Regions from separate parts of the Homo sapiens genome. Here region 2 is linked to region 1. Evidence: promoter capture Hi-C in human tissues and cell types (Jung and others, 2019). All regions are on one chromosome and are shown on one strand. The core of a region is centred on a gene start or on the middle of the fragment in contact, and the rest is flanking DNA. Distances in the headings are between cores, read along the strand shown. Region 1 holds the start of CCDC15 (coiled-coil domain containing 15). Region 2 overlaps SIAE (sialic acid acetylesterase).

Evidence for each region. Contacts are between HindIII fragments. The study calls those that stand out against the background at their distance.
Region 2: a contact is called between a fragment that was not itself captured here and the fragment with the promoter of CCDC15 in region 1, in 1 of the 25 tissues and cell types used here (neural progenitor cells).

The regions. Positions count from the first base shown.
Region 1 is chr11:124,950,441-124,956,475 of GRCh38, reverse strand. CCDC15 (coiled-coil domain containing 15) reads right to left here and starts at 2,274. Exons shown (of 16, transcript NM_025004.3): 1 at 2,106-2,274; 2 at 1,567-1,752. The coding sequence starts at 1,743. CCDC15-DT (CCDC15 divergent transcript) reads left to right here and starts at 2,485. Exons shown (of 3, transcript XR_948134.3): 1 at 2,485-2,994; 2 at 4,926-5,137; 3 at 5,917-6,035. RefSeq lists an enhancer at 2,071-2,614. The HindIII fragment of the contact is 10,363 bases long and covers 1,093-6,035 here.
Region 2 is chr11:124,650,207-124,656,241 of GRCh38, reverse strand. It overlaps SIAE (sialic acid acetylesterase), which reads left to right. Exons shown (of 10, transcript NM_170601.5): 4 at 1,449-1,587. Among named protein-coding and RNA genes, the nearest start is that of SIAE, 21 kb to the left of the region's middle. The HindIII fragment of the contact is 7,658 bases long and covers 748-6,035 here.

The DNA.
Region 1 (6,035 bases), core at 1,025-3,524:
TCATCCCTTCTCATTCCACTCCTTTTTTTTTTCCAGAGATGGGGTCTCACTCTATTGCCCAGGCTAGAGTGCAGTAGTATGATCATAGTTCACTGCAGCCTACAATTCGTGGGCTCAAGCACTTCAATCATCCTTTTTCAAGGCTGTTCTTCTCTATTTCTTACCACTAACAAAGTTTCGATGCTATACTCCATGCTTAAATTATTATAATTATATTCTAATTTATCCCCAGGATCCAATCACTCCCTATCCTTCAAAACCTTTGAAGCAATTCATCTAAAGAAAACACTGGTTGATCATGACATTCACCTGTAAATATTAAACAAAGTCAATCCCTTCTCCAAAATTTCCTAAGGTACTCTACCATCCCTATTTTCCATAATCCTGTCAGCAACCATTCTCCTACTAAGCTTTCCACTCCAATCGATCTAATCTACCCTTAGAATCCTGAACCTTGCTTACTTCTTACTCTCCTCATTCTCCTTAATAGGAGAATCATTCCCTTCCCTTCTCCGATCAAATTCTTCATTACACTTTCCTGGGTCACATCAACCCAACGTCATAGCTTCTTGATTGAGCATTATATTCTTAGAACTTAGATAGAGATACCACCTAGACTCTTAAAATCCTTTTTGGAAATAGGCAGGGTAGGAATAAATCAATGAATATACATACATATGTGCAAACATAAATAAAATGAATATAGTATATTGCATTACTTTAACATTTAAACACATCTCATTTCTCTTCTGAGATCAAGTACACTGAGGGAACATATCTCATCCTTTTTTCATCCATGTTCAGCACCTTGTCTACACATACAGAAGACATTTTGTGCCTTTCATAAATACTTCATGAGTGTCTATATTGATTAGGCAGTATTTAAGATAAAAGTGGGAATGTGATGATAAATGACATTTGTTCTCTACGCTCAAGGAGCTCACACTGCATCAGGAAAAGATATATAAACAATCTACTATAACACAATGTGGTAAGTGCCAAGTTAAATTTGAACAAATAGCTAAGGGGCACAGTTTGGTGAAAGACTATCAGAAACCATGGAATTTCTAGTTAGACTTTCTCAGATTATCAGAGTTCATCTCTTTCTCCTTTATTCTATTACTCCATTTTGCCTGAATCCTCATTACAAAATTTATCATAAACCTTAAGCAACCAATTAATGTTACTTGAAGTATGCCAACTATCATCCATACTAAGTTGCAGTGTCTGGAAGATGTAGATAGTGCTTATGTCTTGGGCATAACAAGCAATCAAGAGTCTGAAGTAAACTGATATACAGATATATATCTATATAACCTGTTCCATGTAGATTATGCTCTATATATTATAGTAGGTGAGTAATAAATATTTGATTATGCCAACTAAAGCTGCAGTCAAGTTTTGGCAAATACTTGTTCTATAATCCTAATGCAAGAGCATAAACTATTTATGGCAGAATAGAAACAGCATCCTCGGACTGTTCATCTTTAAGCACCCAGGATTAGAGAAGGCTAATAAAAAGGGTGGTGGGGAACCCCACCATATTTGGATCAAACTGACACTCACATATGCTGGGATTTCCGAACTACCTGGTGAGGCAGGTTCCACCCATGCCCCAACTGGTACTATAGCCTCGTTCCTCTCAGCCAGCACTGCCAACACGTCCTTGCTCTTCAGGGGGTTTAAAGCCAGGGGCAACCTTGAGGTATTTCGAGGTTTCTTTCGGGCCATACTTCCCAGCATCTGTGACTCCTGATTAGGAGAAAGAAAAAGCTTAAAATCTTCAAATGACTGCATTAAAAGTTCAACCTCCTAACACATGAGCCACAGGCCCGTGAAAAGGAGAGAAGCCCTGGAGGCAGAAGCCTGGCATGAAGTGGAAACACACGGATTCTAGAGAAAAAGGAAGAAAAGAAGGGAAGAGAAATGGGAAGAAATAAAGAGGCAAAGAAAGGTTTTTAAGTTGCCTTCTAGAAGAAATGGCGATGAGAGGGAAGAGAAAGGATGGGAATGAGAGAACGAAGACTGTCCTCAGCTGTGGGCGCAGCGAGGCGGGAAGGGAGGAATGACAGCTGCAACCCGGAGAAAGAGGGAGGGGCGGGGACCTGTGTCTGCAGCCGAGAGTCCCAATAATCGGTATAGGTTATGGGAAGACGCGCTGAACGGCTGGGAGCCTCGGGCCAGATAAAAGCCTGCTTCTGAGGCCCCGAGGCCTGCTCCGGCTGAGATGGCACTGGCCAGGAATCGGCCCGCAGCTCGCCACAGACTCAGTCTACTCGGAGTACTAAGGTAACCGCCTCAAGTAGACCGCCACTTTGCGGTGGGCTGCTCCGTCCCGCCCATCCGTAGCCTTATGCCCGCCCTTTCCGGAGCCCGCGTCCCCTCCCGGAGCTGGGAAGGCGTGAGAGGTGGAGTTTCGAGCGCCCGAGGTATCGTCATTTCCTCTTCCTGTCCGGCTGAGGGGGCGGGGACGTGTGGGTAAGCGGAGTCGCTGGGTAATGCGCCATGTGAGGCGCGGTGGGACTGTCGTTCCTGGACCAACGCCGAGACTTCCTAAATCCCTCCGGAAAGGGATGCGTTGGGCCTGTGATCTGGCGACTAGGAGGGTCAGGAGTCCCAGTAGAGGGAATCACGGGAAAAGAATGAAAGAGGGAGGCGAGCCTGGCACGGCTTCCTGGAGAAACAAACTAAGCTAACAAATTTTTCGGATCCTTTGTGCAGCTAATTTTACAGTACTGTTTCATACATCTTATTATATTTGGACATCACGGCCTGTTGAGTGGTCTCCCTCTCTGCTGCAAGCTCTGCTGTAATCCAGAGACACTCAATTATCTCTGTAGGATAATTTATTCATTCGATTAACATACATTACTACTAACTTTTTATAAACCAGTACTGTTCCAAGCACCGGAGATACATAGCTATGAACGAAACAAATATCCCTGCTCAGGGAATTCACAATAGAGTGAGGGGAAATAAGCGAATAAACAATGAGTAAGTAAATGTGTGTGATGTGGAGTAAAAGCAAAGAAAGCGGATAGGGAGTGTGGTGGGCAGGGTGGGGATTGGAGGGATGAAATATTAGAACGTCCAGAGAAGCTGCACTGAGATACTTTTCAGCAAAGACTTAAATGAGTTAATGGAAGAAGCCACTGTGCTCTTCAACGGAGGCTTTATAAACATGTTCCAGATATAACAGCAAGTATAAACGCCCCAAGGTGGAAGCATTGCCTGGTTGAGAAAAAGTCAGGAGGATAGTGTGACTGGAGCAGAGGGAGAGTGGAAGAATGCTGAGACAGTAGGTCAAGCAGGCAATCCGATCAAACATCGTAAGCCACCATAGGTGTTGAGATGGGGAGCCACTGGAGCAAGGTTTGGAGCAAAGGAACACCATAATGTGACAAAATTAAAAAAATAATAATTCCGAATGCTGTAGTGAGAATAGACTGTAAAGAAGACCAATTAGGTGGCTATTGCAATAATTCAGTTAAGGGATTGTGATGTCTTGGATCAAGGAGGTAGTGGTGGAGATGATGATAAGTGGTTGGATTCTGTATCTATTTGGGAGGCAAAACTTTCAGGATCTGTTGAAGGTTTGGATATGGATTGTGTGAGGGAGAGATGTCAAGGAAAACTAGGGGTTTCATCCTGAGCAGCTGTCAGGATGAAATTACTATTTACTGAGATAGTGAAGATGGTGGAAGGAGTAGATTTGGAAAGGGGAAGATCAGGAGTTCAGTTTGGGGCAGATAAAGTTTTATCTAATCAACATCCGAGAAGATAGTATGAGAAAAAGTGTCTGGAGCTCAGAGAAGGGTTCTGGGCTACAAATATAAATCTAAGAGTCGTTAGCCTGTAGATTTAAAGCCATGAGACTGGATGGAGTCATCAAGGGGTTGAATATAGACAGATAAAAGAATAAATCCTAAAACAGCCCCAGGGTATGTCAGTATTACAGAGGCTGAGAAAAAGAGGAGGAGAATGCTAAGAGATTGAGAAGGATTAATCAGTAAACCAAGGAAGAAAACTATGAGGGTGTGATACCTTGAAAGCCAGGTGAAAAAGAAATGTTCCATTGAGGGCAGACAATCTGTGTTAAATCCTACTGACAGATCAAATAAGGTAAGGACTGAAAATTGACTATTGGATTTGACCATGTGGAAGTGATTGATAACTTTTAAAAGAGCAGTGTCTTTAGAGTAGTTGGAGAGCAAAAGCCTGATGGGCTAGGCAAGAAAGAGTAGGAGAAGGAATTGGAGACAGCAATTTTAGACAATTCTTTCCATGAATTTTGTTGTGAAGGGACACAGCGAAAGAGGTGGCTGAACGTAGAGGTAGGATCATTGGAGAGTTCTTTAAGATCATAGCATATATTTGTTATTGATGGAAATTAACCAATAGACAGGAGAAAACTAATGATGCGGGAGAGATATGGGAGAATTTAGGGATCTACAGTCATGTGTCACTTAAAGATGGGGATACATTTTGATAAATGTTAGGTGATTTTGTCTTTGTGCAAACCTCATAGAGGAAATGGAATTTAGTGAACAAGTGGAGGGATTGGCCTTAGATAGCAGGAGGTATGGTTAATTATAATAATAGCAGAAAAGTTAGAATACACAGTAAACTGATAATTAGGTAATGTGGTGGCAGGAGCTTATGGAAATTCTCTTCTGATTACTCTGTTTTCTCTGTAAAATAGTATTGTAGCCAACCTCCAAGATGGCCCCTAATGATCCCCACCTCTTGGTGTTCACACCTTTGTGTAGTCCCCTCCCACATTGTACCTAGGTTGGACTGTATGACCAACAGAATATGGCAGAAGGGATGGTATATTACTACAGAGGTTAGGTTATAAGAGATATGCTCACATGGGCTCGCTCACTCTCTCTCCCTCCCTCCTTCCCTCCCTCCCTCCCTCTCAGATCTCTTGTTCTGAGGGAAGCCATGTACATCATTAGCAGTTCTATAAAGAGGATCACATGGCAAGAAACTGAAACATTCTGCCAGCTGCCCTGTGAAAGAACTTGGAAGTAGACCCTCCAGCCCTAATCAAGTCTTCAGAGACTGTACTCAGCCAACAATTGACTGCAACCTCATAAGAGACCCTGAGCCAGACCGCCCAACGAGAAACTGTGTGAGATAATGTTTGTTGTATTAAGATGCTAAATTTGAGGGTCATTTGTTATACAATGAGAGAAGTAGGAGGTAAGGGACTATGAAAAGTTGGTAGAGTCAAGAAGTTGTAGGTTCCTGTGGTGGTCTAAAGTTTGTTAGAACAGGATACTCAAAAGAATGTGCTAAGATAAGAGGTGGTCTGAGAGTAGGCTGCTTGGAGCTGAGTGTATGCAGAGGTTGTGGTTATTGGTGCTGTCAAAGTCTATGGTATGACCAAAGGAGGGAAAGCTAAGGTGGGTTAAAGAACAAGATCACTGGAGAAGAGGTCATAGAAACCAAACACCAGAGCATTGATTGGATGATCCATGAGGATACTGAAATCACCAAAAAATATAACAAGAATGATGTTGGAGAAAGCCAGAAGCAACAATCTTGAAAAGGCTTGGAGGTTGGTGGGTAAGTATAGCTTGGAAACCCAAGCATGGTATATTCTGGTGACATGAGGTTCAAAGTTGGAGGTGAGGTTAAGAAAAAGGGAGGATGTGGTTTAGCAAAAGCACTGAGTAACTGAATAGCAAGAAGGAAACCCATCCCACCTCCACCCAGAGGGGCAAGGAACAGAAAACAGCTACTATTAGGTGAGTGCAAAAGTTATTGTGGTTTTTCATTGTTGGAATTTGCCATTTGATGTTGGAATACATGCTTGAATAAATGTGGTTATGTTATACATCAGTTTAATGGGCATTTCTCACTTTTATTTTTTTGCTAATGACTTCTTGCTGTTTATGTTTATTTTAGACTATGGAAATTATGTTAGACAAAAAACAAATGCAAGCAGTTTTCTTATTCGAGTTCAAAATGGGCTGCAAAGCAGCAGAGACAACTTGCAACATCAAGAGTGCATTTGGCCCAGGAAC
Region 2 (6,035 bases), core at 3,327-5,826, 300 kb after region 1:
AATAAATAATACACATTGAAAAAACAATACATACGGGTTGAGTATCCTTTTTCTGAAGTTGCTTGAGATTGGAAGTGTTTCAGATTTTGGATTTTTTTTTGGATTTTGCAATATTTGCATAGACATAATGAGATATCTTGGGGACGGGACCCGAGTCTAAACCTGAAATTCATTTATGTTTCCTATATACCTTATGCACATAGCCTGAAGGTAATTTTGTACAATATTTTTAAATAATTTTGTGCATGAAACAAAATTTGTCTGAAGTATTTATGTGTGGAATTTTCCACTTGTTGACATCATGTTGGCACACCAAAAATTTTGGATTTGGGGGCATTTTGGATTTTGGATTTTCAGATTAGGGTTGCTTAACATATATAATAAATATTTACATAGCATTTACATTGCATTAGGTATAAGTAATATAGAGATACAGGAGGATGTTTGTAGGCTATAAACAAATATGCCATTTTGTATAAGGGACTTGAACATCTTCAGATTTTGATGTGCTGGGGTTTGGTGTGGGGGGGTGTGGTTCCTGGAACCAATGCCCTGTGGACATGAAGGATAACTGTATATGCATTTTGAGACTTATTCCAGTATGTTTCAGTACTTCAACTATGTTTCAGTAGTTCAACAGTCATGTCTGAGCTGTGTTTCTTTTAAGCATGCTTCTCTTGTGTGGTATGGATTAGACAAATCTACCTCCCCACGGCCTTTTTGGTTCCACATAATATCCTAAGCACCATTTTAAAAAGAAGTTAATTGGCTGGGTGCGGTGGCTCACACCTGTAATCCCAGCACTCTGGGAGGCCAAGGCAGGCGGATCACGAGGTCTGGAGATTGAGACCATCCGGGCTAACACGGTGAAACCCCGTCTCTACTAAAAATATAAAAAATTAGCTGGGCATGGTGGTGGGCGCCTGTAGTTCCAGCTACTCGGGAGGCTGAGGCAGGAGAATGGTGTGAACCTGGGAGGCGGAGCTTGCAGTGAGCTGAGATTGGCCACTACACTCCAGCCTGGGCGAGAGAGCAAGACTGTCTCACACACAAAAAAAAAAAAAAAAGAAGAAGTTAATTGGTCTGGTTTTGTGTTATGAGATACTTTTTCAGAGTAGAAATATTTCAGTTTCAAGGTATCAGAGTGTTGTAAGTGCTGGGCAATATTCTTTAGCCTCAGCTACTTCACGGCTCCTCTTGTCTAACATAGACCTGCTCCTTAAGATCACAGATTTCATTATATTTCTACCCTCTTTGGGAACATGATTCATCCTGGTCTCTTTTGGTAAAAGTGGATCAAGGTGATTCAGTGCAGCCCATTGGTTTTGGTTATTAATTTGATCTCAGTATATTGAAAGCTCAGGAGCTCAGAGGACTGATGTTTACTAAGAGGTGTCAGGCTAGTTCACCACCTGCTAGGTTAAATGACGTTTCAATTTCTTTTCCAGATATTTAATGCTACAAGGGAGTTGTCTAACACTGCGGCATATCAGTCTGTCCGCATCCTCTCTGTCTCTCCCATTCAAGCAGAGCAGGAGCTGGAGGACCTTGTTGCGGTTGACTTGCAGTGGTCTAAGCCCACCTCAGGTATGTGACGGCTTGAACGTGCTGTCTCTTATATAATGGGTTAGCGCCCTAAGTGGAATCTGTAAGACTGAATTTGGTTCTTATGTGTCTATTTATTATTACTCATGCCTTTTATTCCTTTCTTATTGACTCTTCATCCTTCCTGATGGTGACTATTTCAGGTTTCTTCCCAAGACTACCAACAAATCTTCCCTCTTGCTGTGGGGAAATGAGTCTTCCTTCAACATCTTCAGTGAAAATATCAAGGCCCTTCGGCATGGGCTCCGCCAGCATCTCTCGCCGATGCCTTCACTCCAAATCCTCTCTTCTTTCTTCCCTTGTCTCTGTGTCTGTAGACAACTGGTCTCTTTTCAGGGCTAACTCTGATTTGGGTTCTCCTTTCTCCAGAGCCTTCTTTAATCCCTTAGGCACTGTGGTTTTCCCCTCAGTCCATTCAGCATGAGCTCTCCATTTCTTTTTTTTCTTTTTCTTTTTTTTGAGACGGAGTCTCAGTCTGTCGCTCAGGCTGGAATGCAGTGGTGTGATCTTGGCTCACCTGCAACCTCCGCCTCCTGGGTTCAAGTGATTCCCCTGCCTCAGCCTCCCGAGTAGCTGGGACTATAGGCACCAGCCACCACGCTCAGCTAATTTTTGTATTTGTAGTAGAGATGGGGTTTCACCATATTGGCCAGGCTGGTCTCGAACTCCTGACCTCATGATCCGCCCACCTCGGCCTCCCAAAGTGCTGGGATTACAGGCGTGAGCCACTGCACCCGGCCACTCTCCATTTCATGACTGCTTTGTGTCAGGATCTGTGCCAGGCCCCAGGGATACAGCAGTGACCAAACGGACACACAGTCCCTGCTCTCTGAGCTTAGCCTTTCTTCTATTCTCACAAAATAAAACAAAACAAAACAACAGTAAACATCGCAAACACCCTTCACAGATGCTTCATCTTTCTCCTTTGCTTTGTTAAACCTTTCTAGAACGTCTTCTGTTTTCATTCTTTTCACTGCCTTTCCCTGTGTTCACTCTTCAGCCCTTTGTCACCTGGCTTCTGCTTCCACCTCAACAATTTGTTCACCTTGATGTTACTATCATTCTTCTAATGATAAACCTAGAGACCTTTGCCGCATTCAGCACTGCGGACCACCCCCTTTAGAAACTGCATGTCCCTCCTTGCTTGCCTGGTACTTTCTTTTCCTACTTCTCCTCCTCTGTCTTCTCTGTCCCTTTTTCTTTGCTTCTTCATTCCCTTCCCTCAGAGGTGGTCCCTGTGTTCCCCCTGGACTTTTTCTTTTTCTCCTGTGCATGCTTTCCTTGGTGCTCAGATGCTCCTACATTTATAAGTAGTAATTCACTTAACAAATATTTGAGTGTCTACTATGTGCTCGACACTGTTCTAAGTGCTGGGGATATTGTAGTGAGTAAAACAGGCAAGAATACCTGACCTCATGGAGCTTACAGTCTAGTGTAAGGGAACTCTGAAAGTGAATCATAAAATAAGCAAATTATAGACAAAGTATCTGATGCTATCCAGTCTTACACTATCCGAACTCTCCCTATAAAAGAGCTCAGGAACTGAATGGATTCAGGTAAATTTTTGGATGAATCCTTTGCTCTATGAACTCTTACTACATGGTATCCAAAACTCAGGACTCAATCAAATTTGGATAATGTATTATGCCTTGTTATCTGAACTTGTTTTCACTTTGTGAAATCAGAAACTGAATGAATAAATGTGGATATCACAGGATAGGTTAATGGGTGACGTGCTAATGAGACAAAAACAAATAAATATATCAGGGAAGGGAGGCAATAGGAAGTGTTCGTGCTGGGATGGGGAAAGGCAACATTTCAGTAGCAGCCTGAAAGAGGCGAGGCAATTCAGATACCTAGGAAGGGCACAGAGGATCCATCTCTCCCACGTTGAGAATCTCTCCTGCCTGCTGTGCTCTTCCCCCTTTTTTTTTTTTTTTTTTTTGACCGAGTCTCACTCTGTTACCCAGGCTAGAGTGCAGTGATGTGATCTTGGCTCACTGCAACCTCCACCTCCCAGCTTCAAGTGATTCTTCTGCCTCAGCCTCCCGAGTAGCTGGGATTACAGGTGTGCCCCACCACGCCCAGCTAATATTTGTATTTTAGTAGAGACGGGGTTTCACTATGTTGGCCAGGCTGGTCTGGGACTCCTGGCCTCAAGTGATCCATGATCTGCCTGCCTCACACTCCCAAAGTGCTGGGATTACAGGCGTGAGCCACCGCGCCCGGTCTCCTGCCTCTTCTGTCATCACATCACTGCTGCTGGGAAAGGTTTTCTGATTTTAAGGACTCTTGTAATTAGATTGGACGCACCTAGATGAGCCAGGACACTCTCTCCATCTCAAGGTCCCTAACCTTAATCACATCTACAAAGTGCCTTTCGCCATGCAAGGTAACACAGCCACAGGTTCCAGGGATGAGTGTGTCGACGTCTTTGGGGTCTGTTATTTTGCCTACACCCCACATTCTCATTCTCAAGCATTTTCAAGTGGGTTTCCATTTTCTTTACTCCAAGATGTGGCTCTAACCTCCCCTCCAGTCTTATCTTCCACTGTTCTCTTTTATAATCTCTGCTCCAGCCAAATACTCTCAGAATATTTCCTATTCTGTGTGCCTTTTCACGTATTTTTTCTTCTGCCTTGAGTGCCAGCTCTGTCTGTTAAACTCCTGTTGCTGGTTTAAGGCTTCTCCAGCTCTCTTCTTCCCTCCTGTTTACCACTCCCCTCTACCTACTGTCAGTGAAACCACAGCCACCCTCAATCAGTCAGCAAACACTGACTCTCCATCATGTCCTGGACGCTGGGGATACAGACGTGAATCAGGTGAAGTCTCTGCTAATAGTGTAGTGAGCTAAGGGAAACACTGAACAGATGGTTATTGCAAGGTCTAGTGATGGAGCGATGCACAGAGTGTCGTGGAAGCACGGTGCGGGGCGGGGAGGTCAGTGTTTATTAGGCCTTTTAGGATCTGCCTCTCATTTGATATTCTTTCTTTGTGTTAAAACTCCTTAATACTTGTTTGTACTTACCATCTTTTGCCATATATTTTATTCAACTAAATACTTGTCTTACTCTTTTTTTTTTTTTTTTGAGACGGAGTCTTGCTCTGTCGCCCAGGCTGGAGTGCAGTGGCACGATCTCAGCTCACTGCAACCTCCGCCTCCCAGGTTCAAGCGATTCTTCTGCCTCAGCCTCCTAGGCAGCTGGGATTAAAGGTGTGCGCCACCACACCCAGCTAATTTTTTTGTATTTTTAGTAGAGATGGGGTTTCACCACGTTGGTCAGGCTGGTCTCGAACTCCTGACCTCATGATCTGCCTGCTTCAGCCTCCCAAAGTGCTGGGATTACAGGCATGAGCCACCATGCCCAGCCCTACTTGCCTTATTCTATCAACTAATAGACCTATGAGGAGAGGTTCCATGTGTCTCTATATTGCTTTCATCACTGTCTCCCATCCATCTAGTAGTTCCTGATACATGGTAGGTGCTCTGTCCATTTAATTATTTTGGAATTGATTTGAATCCTCACTATTGCACTGTCTACTTTTGGAGTGCCAGTGACTTAGCCATAGTCAGTCTTTAATAAACCTTGGGCTGAACTGATCCCATCCTTGTGTGTACATGCATGCCCCCCTCTTCACCAGCTTTCTTCTAACATGAAATTGCTCACTCTTGCCTCTGTTGGTTACTGGGCAGTGTAATTGGATGAATGAATTAGACTGTGCTGAGAATTTAAACACTAGTTTTGGCTTCTGTGGCTTTCCCTTTGGGCCGAATTTCCCATCACTTATCTGTCCATGTTTTCTTTACCATAGCTATTTATTTTTATTTTTTGACTTTTATTTTATTTATTATTTATTTTTTTGAGACAGAGTTTTGCTCTTGTTGCCCAGGCTGGTGTGCAATGGCACGATCTCAGCTCACTGCAACCTATGCCTCCCAGGTTCAAGCGATTCTCCTGCCTCAGCCTCCCGAGTAGCTGGGATTACAGGTGCCCACCACCACGCCCAGCTAATATTTGTATTTTGGGTAGAGACGGGGTTTCATCATATTGGCCAGGCTGGTCTCGAACTCCTGACCTCAGATGATCCACCTGCCTCATTCTCTCAAAGTGCTGGGATTATAGGTGTGAGCCACTGCGCCCAGCCTCTTTAGCATAGCTATAAAATTGGGTATAAAGCCACCAGAAAAAAGAAGAAATACACATTTCTTCTTAAGTTGCCCCCTCCTTGCTTTTTCCCTTCCACAGAGCTAAGTGGGAATGAGTGGCTGAGTAAGAGGGGAGACACAGAAGAGAGTAGCATGGGGACATGATGGCCCTCCCACCTCTCACCTATTTGAGGGAGAGCATTGATTATCCGAGAGTCTGCAGATCCTGTAAGTGATGGGAAGCATGGGGAAGCCTATTGCCTAGCCAGAGTTTTAACTTCCA